Linked DNA regions of Homo sapiens: region 2 is linked to region 1. Evidence: promoter capture Hi-C in human tissues and cell types (Jung and others, 2019). All regions are on one chromosome and are shown on one strand. The core of a region is centred on a gene start or on the middle of the fragment in contact, and the rest is flanking DNA. Distances in the headings are between cores, read along the strand shown. Region 1 holds the start of KRTAP13-4 (keratin associated protein 13-4). Region 2 has its middle 7.3 kb from the start of KRTAP13-2.

Evidence for each region. Contacts are between HindIII fragments. The study calls those that stand out against the background at their distance.
Region 2: a contact is called between a fragment that was not itself captured here and the fragment with the promoter of KRTAP13-4 in region 1, in 2 of the 25 tissues and cell types used here (dorsolateral prefrontal cortex and mesendoderm cells).

The regions. Positions count from the first base shown.
Region 1 is chr21:30,427,907-30,435,712 of GRCh38, forward strand. It overlaps KRTAP13-4 (keratin associated protein 13-4), which reads left to right and starts at 2,314. Exons shown (of 1, transcript NM_181600.3): 1 at 2,314-3,120. The coding sequence starts at 2,370. The coding sequence ends at 2,852. The region is part of intron 3 of LOC105372772 (a long non-coding RNA gene); the gene reads right to left. The HindIII fragment of the contact is 9,351 bases long and covers 1-7,806 here.
Region 2 is chr21:30,361,366-30,368,542 of GRCh38, forward strand. No RefSeq gene overlaps it. Among named protein-coding and RNA genes, the nearest start is that of KRTAP13-2, 7.3 kb to the right of the region's middle. The HindIII fragment of the contact is 3,695 bases long and covers 2,077-5,771 here.

The DNA of each region.
Region 1 (7,806 bases), core at 1,064-3,563:
ACATATGGCTTATACTCTTTTTTCTATTTTCAATCTTTATATAGAAGTATTGGCTTTTGCTTATTGAGGTTGTAACCTGGATGGTTAGTGAAAGCAAGATTTTCCAGCATGTTAGTGACAAGTTGCCTGGTTATTTTGAAAAGAGAAGCAGGTAGGTGCCAAACGTTGTAATTTTCAACTATGGATGAGATTCTGTTGAAAACATATCTCAAATATCCAAAGCCATTATTCATAGCCCAGTGAAGAGAATCATCTGTCAAAAGATCAGAAGCCTTTTGATGTATATCCCTGAGCCATATATTTTATGTGAAAGATCTCAATTTTTAATTGTTGATAAATAATTCAGTCAAAAAAAGAAACAACAATGATGAGGCTCCATATTAAACAGAACAAATAATATGATCTCCAAGATGAAGTGAGTCCAAAGTTGTGGCATTTACAAGTTCTTCTTAAACTTCTATCAAATTAATGTGGACAAAGTTTTAGAGATTTAGAGGCAGAGAGAAGGGAAGAACACCTCTTTTCACAATAACTGGTTCAGAGAAGGATTTTTGAATAAGGAGCCTGGATTAACTGAAGACAAATTCACTAAATCCCTTAGTTTTGCCTGAATAAATTCATGCTCTCCATTTAACTCATAAGTTTTGTATTCAAGATTATTTTAAAGAGTTACATTTGAAACAAAAGAAAATGGGGAAGGAATAGTTTCCAAACCTACTTACTAAGGTACAAGGTTAGGGGAAATCAACTGCCATTGAAAAATAGAAAGTAACTCACTGAATAGATATTTGAATTGGCCATATTTGCTTCTTTCTTCATTCTTCCTTCTGGAAGGCCTATATTAAGTTACTTTTCAATATTGCCATACATTTTAATTGAGAAAATTTAATCGAGAAAATGTCTAACATTATTGTTGTAAGTTTATTATATTTTATTATAAAATAAAATGTCATCAACCATGACAGTACACTTTCTTTGGTCCTGAATATAATTTAACTACTTGTATTTCAACATAGAATATTTTGTGAATGAACTTACAAAGTGGCTATCCTCAAAGAATACGACAAAGCTGTCCAATTTTTATTTTTCAACATGGAATCTATAATTCAGCAGAGGCAAACAAACACATGAACAAAACATAAAATATAACAAGTAAAAAAAAGAAAAAAGATAAAATCAAACTTAAGCACAGAAAAAAGAAAGAAAAATAGAGGGAAAGAAAGTCAGAGGAAGAGAGAGAGAAAATAAGAGAGAAACATTCATATACCATGCAGAGGAAAAGAGGACTGGGGAACAAAGAAACTTCACATTTTCACAGGAAAATGTAGGATGGTACCTGGTTCTACAAGTGGCAAAAAGACACTGAAAGCCAGTAATATGGAAAGCTAGAGCCATTCTAAGAAGGTAGAAGTCCTGTATAATTACAAAAGTAGATGATAAATATATCAAAGTTCATAAGATTTGCTAATTTTGAAAATTTTTGCTCATAAAGACATTGAGACAAGACACATGACAGCTGGAATGCAATAGGAAAAAAAATTCTGAAATTCCTGAGCTTTCTCTTTGTTTCTCTTTCACTTGTTTCCTCCCTTCAGCAGACAAGCATTCGGGCTCTTTGGCTGAAGAGACATGACCTCAAATTGATCTTCTCTGTGACTGTGTTTCAATCGAGCTTCTTTTTGTTATCTCGTCTTTAAATAAATGGCAAGGTTTCTTTCAATTTCTAGCCATTTCTTTCTATCTCTTTGCTTTGCCTGTTCTTGATCTTTCTTCACTGGATATGAGACAGACTTTATAACTGTAGTACTTAATGTATTAATTTACTCTTACCGCCCTAAAAAATCACCACAAAGTAATTTTGGAGTATAGCAATCAATGGTGACAAGATGGATCATTTTCACAAAGGTTCTCATCCAGGTGGAAATTGCACCAGAAAGAAACTAACGTTATCTCATTCCCCACTCTTAAGAGGAAAACATCTACTAGCAAAGCCAGATGTGAATACACAGGAAAAGAGGCAGTTAGCATGTGCCAAAGAAATAGGAAGAGCTTTCCTTGTCATGATGAGCTAGACATTAATATAAAACAGTCATAGCATTTCTGACATAAGTACAGTTCATTGGCTTTGTGCTATAACACGAAAATTATAGCACCCATAAATACAATACATGGAAAACTATTCAAATGCAATTACAGACAAGATTACGCAGTTACACATATGTAAATGAGGGATCACAAATATGTAAAGGATGACCCTGTTGGGCACCACACCTATTGCTGAGAGGATATAAATGCCCTTGTCCAGGATGCGACATTAAAACTCAGAATCTTCTTAGGTACACTCAGCTGAACTCCCATCTCTCATCAGCATGTCCTACAACTGCTGCTCTAGAAACTTCTCCTCCCGCTCCTTTGGGGGCTACCTGTACTACCCAGGCTCCTACCCCAGCAGCCTGGTCTACAGCACTGCCCTCTGCTCTCCCAGCACCTGCCAGCTGCGTTCCTCTCTCTACAGGGACTGTCAGAAGACCTGCTGGGAGCCCGCCAGCTGCCAGAAATCCTGCTACCGCCCCAGGACCTCCATCCTCTGCTGTCCCTGTCAGACGACTTGCTCTGGATCTCTAGGCTTTCGGTCCAGCAGCTGTCGCTCCCAGGGCTATGGATCTAGGTGCTGCTACTCGCTGGGAAATGGATCCAGTGGCTTCAGATTCCTGAAATATGGAGGCTGTGGTTTTCCTTCCCTGAGTTACGGATCCAGATTCTGCTACCCAAACTACTTGGCTTCTGGAGCCTGGCAGTCTTCTTGTTACAGACCAATCTGTGGATCTCGCTTCTATCAATTCACCTGCTAAATTTCTAGATCCTTTTGAGTATTGGGATCAAAGTCTCTACTGAATGCAGCCATTATTTTCATTCTTGCCAGATCCCAATATCTTTTTATTCTTCCACCACCAGCTTCTTGCATGACCAACTTCTGGCAGACTGCGAAATTAATGAGTAACCTAATATTAACTTCTAATATCTTTACCATTGATCGAATATATGCTATCTGATTTTCATCCAAAAACTGTTGAAAATGGAAATTTTAATCTAATAAATGTATGTAATCTGGTACCCAAATATATTGTTCACATTGTTATTATTTTATTATTATTATTTTGCTTACATTTTTGCATTCAAGAATTTGGGAGATTTAAGTAAAAATCAATATGACTGTGTAACTGGATTTGGGGCCCATATAATCTGACAGATCTGAGAACATTTCTCTTGAAATTAGGTATGTTGTCTATTAAGAGTAATCATTTCTGGAAGAACATAGTTTGCATCTGCAGACTTGTCTCAACAGCAGTGAGAATTGTCTAAGAATGAAGGACATGCATTTCTACTGATATAGGAAAGCAGAAAATTTGATGCATAAACTAGAAATGCAGACAACAAGACTAGGATGTAATTTATAAGGTAAACTGTATGCTTGCACTAAAGGTTACTTAAAGTCTAGTATCTGAATGTGGATTTTCAACCAAGAGAAAAGTGAAGCTTAAGCACTGCTAGGACAGACGCTTTGCTCTTTGTTAGTAGACTTAAGTGCCAGGTTTCCTGCCTCCCACTGGTAAGGAGAGTCAGGATCATTCACCAATGATCTTAAGTGGGAATTATTGGGTCCAGGAGGCTTCGGTAACCTACCGATGCTTCTTCAAGGCTCAACCTTAATCAAGCTGACAGCAACACACCTGAGCCATGCTGAACAAGCATTTATATCCATTAGTCTTACTCTGGATCCTCCTCTTCTCCCCAGAACAAGGCTAATGTCAAAGATTTGGGTGCAAACAGTTTATGTGGCACAAGATCCCAGGAAGCAAGTATGAGACACTATGGAAGATGAAAGAATCAAAGAGGAAAATCTAAAGAAAGGGTGCATTTTCGAGTTTATTTTATGGAGAGCAACTTGGCTAAATCTTGTAAGGACCTTTTAGGAGCATGTAGAATGACTCTTGGAATTGTCCCCCACAGGATCAGATCAACATGGAAAAACATTTATCCATCCGCTTCTTTCTCCCATTGGCTGAACAATATCCAAGATGTGTAATTTTCAGGAACCTTATAATTATGCAAGGAAAGAATCACAGTGGGCACCTTCTGTTTTCCTAGTTGTGACCTGGAAGAAACCCAGGTACAGTAAAAGTGGCGTTGCATATGACTGAGGGCAGATGTTGTCCACACAAAGGTGGTTGAAGCCAACATAAAATGGTTTGCATTGCTATGCTTGTGGTCATAGGTGAGTGTATACCACACAAGAAGGCAAAAGAGTTATCAGGTAACAGATTTTCCCTTAATACTTAACATCCCTGTGAGAAAGACAAATACTGTATACTATAGACCTTTACAGGCATGGGGGAATGGAAACTCTAAAAGGATTTAAAACTGGCCAAGGCTTACAGATCAAAGACCTGGTAGAATATGATCTCTTGAATGAATCTTGTTTTGTTACTCTTTTCTGGTTTTTCTTTTCTTTTTATTAAAAAATACAACTCCTAGTTCAACCAAGGAACACTTAGTATTTCTAGTAGTACAGAAATACTGCAGAATTACTATTCATCTAAATGGAGATGATCCACTATTGGATTTATTTGTGTAGCCTCATGAGTAGTATCAGTAATAAAGAATGAAAATACAAATAAATTTAGAGTTTAGGAGAAGAGCTCCAAAGAAGGTAAACTAATTTATTTAAATAACATTTTAACGGTTATAACAAATAGTAGAGTAATAGAAAAATAATCAATGGCATCTCAGGAAGAAAATGTTATGAATTCTGAGTTCTATGACATATCTTAACATTTTAATTATTATCATGAGTGTAACTTAGTTTTTTCAGATTTAGGATCCAAGATGATAGATATAAAGTTCTGCCTTCAATAATACCAAGCATTATGAACAAGAATGGTGAAATTGCAGACTCTTGCAACATCTCACTAATAACGTAAATCAGATTCCCATTTTGGTGAGATTGGACTGAAGGGGGATGGAATCAATCAGAGTGAATTCATGGCAATGTTCTTGAGTAAACTAATAATATAGAATGCAGAAGCAGCATACAATGTGTAAAAAATATTGATAAACATAAGGAAATTCCTTTCATTTACTTTTCTGTATAAAACAATACAAATTATTGCTTAAAATAAATGAAACAAGAGCTCAAAGATAATACAGTAGAAAAACGTGAACATGGTGATTAACAAGGTAAGGAAAAGTATTGATTGCCAGTACAATTTAGAGTATATACAAAGTGTTTTAAAATTTTTCAAATTATATCTTCTACTTTTATTGATAGAATATTGCAGCTTATTCGGATACAAAGTGAGTTATGTATTCACCACAATTAAAAATGTGCGTCTTCTCCACAGGACTCTTATTTTCTTTACCATGATGTCCTTACCAAAATTTGTACTTTTTATCATTATGGATACAACAGATAATCTCATCTTCAATGTTGAACTTTTAAAATAACTTTACATTAGCTTTATCAAACAGAACATTATGAACTTTTTATAGCTTTACTCTTTTGGGGGGGCTAGGCGAAGAAATCAAAACATTATTGGAATTAATTTATTTTCTGTTTGAAGCATTTGACAGTTCTAATATAAAACTGAATTCATTTAATCCCTAGTGATTTGTTTTTCCTGCTACTGGAGGGGCATGTCATTAACTATTGGTTCAATTATTTTCTGTACATGCACAAGAATATGTATAATTTAACACGAGTGAAAATGACTTAAAACAGTTATTTGACCTAAATGAAAATGTCTGTATCAGGGTGATGTATTGACACACTTTTTGCAACTGTTAATAGTAAATAATCATCTTAGGACTTGGTCTTCTTAAACATTTTTCTGTCTTTTGAAGTAGATACTGATGTATCTTCAGTAAAACTATGTCTTTCACTTTTCATGTGGTCAATGATATCACCTACTCTCATGTTGAATAATAAATATCATCAAATTGTTGTACAAGTTCATGCAGTCACCATCAACCGGATTTAGTGGTAGAAATTCAGAACCCAACTTTTGTTTTTTTCATTAAAAAATGAGCTTTTATTTTTGGCTTATTTTCCTTTTCTTCTATCTACAAAATTTAAAGAAGAAAAGTGTTACCGAATAATAAAAAATAGTTGTAGATTTAAAAAATACAAGACATGGCCAAATCACTGTAGCAAGAGCATTTAGATTATCCTTTATCTGTGGCTTTGTGGCAGTCAAAATTTCATGCCCATACTTCACGTGCACCTAGCCAGCAATTCTCAAATTTCCCACTAACTCCACCTACTGTTGGCTTGAGAGTATTGCCGCGTCTTGCAGCTGTGGAATGGGCCATCGCACTACCGGCTAGGTCTGAACAACAAATGACCCACCCCCAAGACTTGAACGAGTAGGCTGACCTATCACTTGTATGTAAGTGTAATTTGTTTCTCAAATGCTCTGTCTGCATGTTCTCTTTGCAAGAAAAGTTATAGTTTTTAGCGGGGTGTGGTGGTGTGTGCTTCTAGTCCTAGCTACTTGGGAGGCTGAGGTGGGAGGATAGTTTGAGCCTGGGAGGTGAAGGTTGCAGTGAACGGAGATTGTGCCACTGCAATCCAGCCTGAACCATAGCACCGCAAGTTATCTCAACAACAACAACAAAAAAAAGATAGTTCTATTTTGTTTAGAAATTTTAAGAACAATTGTAAGCATTCTGTCTTCTTTCAGATTTAACAATTGAAGTAAAAACTCTGCTCACTGTGCGTGCTACTTTTTCTTCACTAGATGAAACCATGACAAAAGTAAAGTAGAAATTTCCTAAACTAATCATTATTTATGTTAATATATTACTGATTATAAATAAATAAAAAGTTAAAAATCTGAGACAATCACCAAATGGTATTGGATACTGAAACAACAACAACAAAAAATAAACCATGCCATATTGTTACCCAGTAGGTAAGTATCTAGGTCTTCCATTTAATAATGTTGTACTTGACTTAAATGATAAAACATTTGAGGCTTAACTGCTGATTCAAGGATTATCAGCTACCTGGATATTTAGCCTAATCCTGTAACAAGAGAATATTTGCACTGGTTTTGAATTTTATTTTTTCAAGAAAGTGCTGCCAACCAAACAACTTAAAAAATAAGAGTAAGTTGAGACTTCATCAAGTTTATAGAACTGATTATATAAAACAGGTTGGTCCTACTTGCTAACGAATATTGAAATATGTTAGCACTTTCATTTGGAGAATTGATTTCTTACCTGGCACTAAGGCTAGGGGATCTGGATTCCTCAACAAATCTAACTCACTAAAATCTAACTTTTTACTGGATATCCTCACTCTGAATTCTCATATATTTCAGAAAACATTTTATAAAAGTATTCTTTCTACCAAAATTATGTGATACAATCAATTTAATAGTCATTGCAAATGTAATCATTTATATAAAAATATTGATGTTTCTAACTCCCTGCAGAAAAAGAAGACCACAGTGGTTAGTTTGTTTGTAGTCTTAAAAATGTGTCCTCTTCATTTTATCACGTGAAGATATTAATAGATGGAATCAATATGAAAGATGAAAAGTCTTCTAAATTAAAAAAGAATATGGACAATTTTACTTTTTAAAATTAAAAATAAATTAAACTTTTATTTTAGGGTTAAAGGTACATGTGAAGATTTGTTACATAGGTGAACTCGTGTCACGGGGATTTTGTTGTACAGATTATATCATCACCCAGGTATTAAGCCCAGTACCCAGTAGTTATCTTTTCTGTTTCTCTTCTTCT
Region 2 (7,177 bases), core at 2,674-5,173, 65 kb before region 1:
CTGTCCAGAAGAAGAAAACTAGAATTCTCCCTCTCATTCTTTTGGAAAGTCATAAAACACTTGAGCATATTAACAAACTTTTAAAAAGGATAAAAACAAATCTGATTAATGTGGTTAGCCCAAATTAATCATATAAATATAAACTTTGTATCCAATCTATTAATATTTCTTAAAACCAGTGTCTCAAGCAATTAACATTTGAGGAGAAGGGCTTTAGTCATTTGAGATTGGAATGGAATGGTATTACTGGTATAGTTCAGGAAACTAACTGGAGATTAAAGGGATACCTACTAAAATAGGTGGCAAACATTAAAGAAAAGAAAAAACTTAGGGCAATTTCTAATTCTTTGACTTTGCTCACTACTTCTATAGCTACCCTTACTAGATTAAGAACTTCCTATATCAGTAACTACATCTTCTTCAATAACAATCAAGCTGAGAAACGAATCATCAACTCAATTCCATTTACAATAGCTACAAAAATAACTAGGAATACATTGAACCAAGAAGGTAAAAGAGCTCTACAAGGAGAACTATAAAACACTAATGAAAGAAATCATAGATGATACAAACAAATGGAAGAGCATCCTATACTCATGGATTGGCAAAATCAGTATCATTAAAATGACCTTACTGCCCAAAGCAACCTACAGATTCAGTGCAATTCCTATCAAATAACAACATCATTTTAATAGAATTATGAAACCTAAACTTCATGTGGAATCAAAAAAGAGCCCCAATATCCAAAGCAATCCTAAGTAAAAAGAACAAAGCTGGGTCATCACATTTCTTGATTTTAAATTATACTACAAGGCTATAATAAACACAACAGCATAGTACTGTATAAAACTAGACAAATAGATCAATGGATCAGAATAGAGAACACAGAAATAAAGCCAAATACCTAAAATCAACTGATCTTTGACAAAGTCAACAAAAATATACACAAGGGAAAGGACACCCTGTTCAATAAATGGTGCTAGGGAAACTGGATTGTCATATGCAGAAGAATGAAATTGAATCCATATCTTTCACTGTATACAAAAATTAACTCAAAATGGATTAAAAACTTAAATGTAATATCTGAAACTATAAAAACCCCAGAAGAAAATGTAGGAAATCTCTTCTAGACATTGACCTAGGCAAAGAATTTATGACTAAGACCGCAAAAGCAAATGCAACAAAAACAAAAATAGACCAATGGGACTTAATTAAACTGAAAAGCTTCTGCACTCCTAAAGAAACTGTCAACAGAGTAAACAGACAACTTACAGAATGGGAGAAAATATTTGAAAACTATGTGTCCACAAAAAGACTAATATCTAGAATCTACAAGAAGCTCAAACAACTCAACAAGAAAAAAAAAAAAACCACTATCAAAAAGTGGGCAAAGGACATGAACAGACATTTTTCCAAAGAAGACATACAAGCAGCCAACAAACGTGGAAAAATTCTCAACATCATTAATCATTAGAGAAATGCAAATTAGAACCACATTAAGATACCATCTTACAGTAATAAGAATGGTTATTAAAAAGTCAAAAAACAACAGATGTTGGCAAGGATGCAGAGAAAAGGGAACACTGTTGGTAGGAATGTAAATTAGTACAAACTTTATGGAAAACAGTATGAAGATTCCTCAAAGAGCTGAGAATAGAACACCATTTGATCTAGCAATCCCATTATTGGGTGTCTACACAAAGAAAAAGAAATTGTTATATATATTAAAATCCCCTGCACTGGTATGGTTATCATAACACTATTCACCATTGCAAAGTCATGGAATCAGCCAAAGTGTCCATCAATGAATGACTGAATTTTAAAAAGTGATATATAAATGCAATGTGATACTACTCAGCCATAAAAAAGAATAAAATTGTGTCTTTTGCAGCAAAATAGATGGAAATGGAAGCCATTATCCTAAGTGAAATGACTAAGAAACAGAGTCAAATACCACATGCTCTCACTTATTATTGCGAGCTAAACAATGTGTATACCTGGATATACAGAGTGGAATAATTGACTTTGGAGACTCCAAAAGTTGGGAGATTGGGAGAGGGGTGAGGGATGAAAAATTACCTACAATATAAACTATCTGAGTGATGGATATACTAAAAGCCTGGAGTTCACACTACGTAATATATTCATGTAACAAAACTGCATGTTTACCCTTAAATCTATAAAAATAAAATAAAATAGAACTTTAGAACAGAAGAGTTTCCATACATCAATAACTGCATCTTCTCACTTTAGTTAACAGACTTTAGTATTCTTATACTAATCTTCCAGAAATGCCAACTAAAAACCTTATAACACATCTTACTAATGAATAATCTACTTATGTTCTCCACACGTGACTAACTTTTGTTAAACTTAAAAAAAAAATCATAGGCTCACATGAAGTTGTACAAATAGTACCTAGAGTCCCTTCACACAGCCTCCTGCAATATTGCCAACTTATTTAACCATACTACAAAATCAAACCTAGGAAATTGACACTGGTGCCATGTTGTTCGCTAGACTACAGACCTTATTGAGTTTTGCTGGTTTATACATGTACTCATTTGTGTTTGTATCTGTATGGTTCAATGTAATTTATCTAATGTATAGATTAGTGTAACCACTACCACAGTCCAGAAGAAAAATTCTTCCATTTATGATTAACATTTTTTCTTTTTTTTTTAGAGACAGGGTCTTGCTTTGCTGCCTAGGCTGGATTGCAATGGTGCAATCAATAGCTCATTGCAGCCTGGAACTCCTGGCTTCAATACTCCCGCCTCAGCTTCCCAAGGAGCTGGGACTACAGGCATGCACCATGTGTATGAATTACAATGTTCATGTAATGAGGCAGAAATATGAGCCACATATTTTGTCCTTTTATATTTATAAAATGTTTAATTTAGTTATATATGAAATTAAAAATGGAAGCTTGTGTTTTCTAGACAACAACACTAGACAGTAATGCAGCATTTGAGGTGAGTGGTGCAAGTGGTGGTATAGAGCAGAAAGAAAGATCAAGTCAAAATACGACACATTTATGTAATTATGTCATTTTTTCCCCAAGTCACAAGTAGAAGCAGTGCCATTAGAAATGTCAAAATTTTGGATGAACCTGGAGGACATCATGCTAAGAGAAATAAGCCAGACACAGAAAGGAAAATACTACATGATGTCATGTATGTAGAAATCGAAACTAGTTAAACTCACAAAAGCAGAGACTAGACTGGTAGCTGTCAGGGCCTGGGCGGAGGGTAAATTGGGAGGGTGTTGGTCAAAGGGTAAAAAGTTTCAGTTATGCAGGACAATTAAGTTCTGGATATCTAATGTATAGCAATGTGACTGTAGTTAACAATATTGTATCGTATACTTAAAATTTGCAGAAAGGGTAGACCTCAGTGTTCTTGCCATAGTCAAATGATCAATCAAATGGAAACTGAAATTATAACTATATTAATTACCTTGACTGTGACAATTTCACAATATGTGTATATATTATATACAGTGTGTGTATCTCAAAACATCAATTTTTACTCCTTAAATTTATATAATTTTTGTAGACTATACCTCAGTAAAGATGAGAAAAAGAAAAAAGGCATAAATTGATAAGGTAAAGTAATTCTTTCCAGGAAATGATATGCATAATTTCTTTTCCTCCTCAGTTTCCATATTAAAGGAAAAATGATATTCAGACTTTTGTAGCACATCTGTTACTAAGTTTTACAATTAACATTACTGATTTCACATACTGTTGTCAGAAAAAATTGTGGGATTTTGAAATGGGGGAAATGTATTACTATGTGGCCTGTCTAGTTCATTTTTCAAGGTATTGTCACGTATTATTGCTTTTTAACTCCTATATAATTCTGTAAGTTGAATAAAATTGTTAATAATGCAAATGATTCTAGTCCATAGAAATGAAATAGTTTCTGTCAAGTGGAATGATACTGATTTTTACTCTGCGTACAGCACTACTTTGCATCTATCTGTGGATTCATTTCAAACTTCCTAACAACCTGTCTAAGTGTTCTCTGAATTATGCTTTGAACCAGTTGTAGCATCTTAGTGGTCCCCACATTTATTAATGAGTTAAATAAAAATTTTTATATGTGTTGATTTTTTCATTTGTGTAAGAATTGTGACTTTACCTTTTTAAAAATTTATCTTAATACTATTATGTTTTATATTGTATCACATTTTAAACGTTTGCCTTCCCTTTCTTTAAGTTCCAGGGAAGCAGCATGCAAGACATAGTGAGAAAAAAAAAGAAAATAAAAATAGTTGGAGATCAACAGAGATGAGATATTAGGATTGGATTAACCATGAATGATTTCTTTTGAACAGCTGGATAGAGAATTCTGGACTTGAACAGTAGATACCTGATGTTTTCTTAATTCATACTGTGGTGCCTCTCAAGTAATAGTCTGCAACCCTGAGCTTCTGCTTGTTAATACTTTATTAGACTGCTAATTGTAACTAAGTCTCCAGTTACATAAACTTTGATATCTAAGAATAACATGAGCCCCCCAAAACCACTCCCACATATGAAATGTGAAGTTTATTTTTTTAATTGTTTATCGTTGACATCTTGCCACCCCAGACACAAAGCTGAGGCCCTCTATGGCATCCGTGTTGTTTCCGTCTCTATTTCTGGATTTGTAGAATTGGACAATCACACTTACTTATTATTATGTAGTCTTCTACCTCTTGCTGACCACATTTCCCAGTTTAATAAAAAAGGAACTTGTAGTTTTGTCCCCGAAACCCACACTGTATTCTTCCAAGCAATTATGCCACCGCTTACGCAGTTTCCTCTTGCTGGCGCTCTCTTCTCACGCATCCTTCACACCAAAATCATAGGAGGAAATTTGTCTCTCTCACTAGTGAGAGACATGAGTCTAGTGACATTGGTCTTTTCTAAGCTCTCAGCACTTTTCACAGAAGAGCTCTAGTGCAAAGTTAAAGCTCAAACACATCTAGTGAGCTGAATTAGAACAAAGAGCTGATGTCACTTGGTATATTAAGGTCATTAGGAGTGGAATAATTATAAGTGAGCTTGAAAGCAACTTATCTTTTCCACTCTGCTTTTTCTTAGCCAGTGATGGGAGTCAGCCTTCCATTACACTCTCTGTTACCCTCATACAACTTAGGCGTTGACCCACAGTTACCAGGTGCCTAACTTGACAGCACCCTAAAGGGTGAGTGTGGAGAGGAGCAGAGTGTACATAAAAACTGAAAAATCACAGAGAGAAGGAGAGAAAGAAGAAAAGCAAAGAGAAAAGGTGAGAGAGGAAAATAAAAAATAGTTGGAGATTAGCAGAGATGAGATATTAAGGGAAGATTATTCATGCAGAAAATGGAGGAGGCAAAGAATATTTATTTTGTCTGATCCCTGAAATCTGAATCTTCACATTATACTTTGAAAGGTTTAAATATTGAAAGTATTCCAATGTGTTAATTTTCTCCTTTACTCTCTGCCTCCCTGTCTCAATTGTTTGCATTCCACTTAAAGATTGCATTAGAATGGTGGAGATTCTTCAAGTCACTACAGAACTAGATTCTCTATGTCACTGGACACCCCTTCCTTCTATCTTGGGATTGCTGCATTTTAAACATTTCTCTGTGCTCAGATGTCTCCTTGCAAGGCCTGGTGCCTTCCACACTTGAAGTTATGAGCCTCTAGCTCCCAGGACTTTCTTACTGTCCATGCTACTGTGACCCCTTTAGTTTGTTTTCTCAAATGATTTTTTTTAATCCACATTTTACTCATTCCGCATTATTTAAAGATGAATTAGTAGTCCACCTTCAATGCTAATGGCATAATTCAGACTCATAGGACCTTTATGTCTAATAAAAATTTTTAATTACCTATTTACACCAAAGTCAATGAGTAGCTCTGCACTTGATGACATATTTTTTTTTTTTTTTTTGAGTCAGAGTCTCACACTGTCACCTAGGCTGGAGTGCAATGGTGCAATCTTGGCTCACTACAACCTCCGCCTCCCAGGTTCAAGTGATTCTCCTGCCTCAGCCTCCCAAGTAGCTGGGATTACAGGCACCAGCCACCATGCCTGGCTAATTTTTTGTATTTTTAGTAGAGCCGGGGTTTCGCTATGTTGGCCAAGCTGGTCTCAAACTCCTGACCTTGTGATCCACCCACGTTGGCCTCCCAAAGTGCTGGGATTACAGGCATGAGCCACCATGCCCTGCCCAACGATACATTTTGTTTGTTTGTTTGTTTGTTTGTTTGTTTTTAATTATACTTTAAGTTCTAGGGTACATGTGCACAACGTGCAGGTTTGTTACATATGTATACATGTGCCATGTTGGTGTGCTGCACCCATTAACTTGTCATTTATATTAGGTATATCTCCTAATGTTATCCCTTCCCCCTCCCCCCACCCCACAACAGGCCCCGGTGTGTGATGTTCCCCTTCCTGTGTCCAAGTGTTCTCATTGTTCAGTTCCCACCTATGAGTGAGAATATGTGGTGTTTGGTTTTTTGTCCTTGCGATAGTTTGCTGAGAATGATGGTTTCCAGCTTCCTCCATGTCCCTACAAAGGACATGAACTCATCATTTTTTATGGCTGCATAGTATTCCATGGTGTATATGTGCCACATTTTCTTAATCCAGTCTATCATTGTTGGACATTTGGGTTGGTTCCAAGTCTTTGCTATTGTGAATAGTGCCGCAATAAATATATGTGTGCATGTGTCTTTATAGCAGCATGATTTATAATCCTGCGGGTATATACCCAGTAATGGGATGGCTGGGTCAAATGGTATTTCTAGTTCTAGATCCCTGAGGAATCACCACACTGTCTTCCACAATGGTTGAACTAGTTTACTGTCCCACCAACAGTGTAAAAGTGTTCCTATTTCTCCACATCCTCTCCAGCACCTGTTGTTTCCTGACTTTTTAATGATTGCCATTCTAACTGGTGTGAGATGGTATCTCATTGTGGTTTTGATTTGCATTTCTCTGATGGCCAGTGATGATGAGCATTTTTTCATGTGTCTGTTGGCTGCATAAATGTCTTCTTTTGAGAAGTGTCTGTTCATATCCTTCGCCCACTTTTTGATGGGGTTGTTTGTTTTTTTTCTCATAAATTTGTTGGAGTTCTTTGTAGATTCTGGATATTAGCCCTTTGTCAGATGAGTAGATTGCAAAAATTTTCT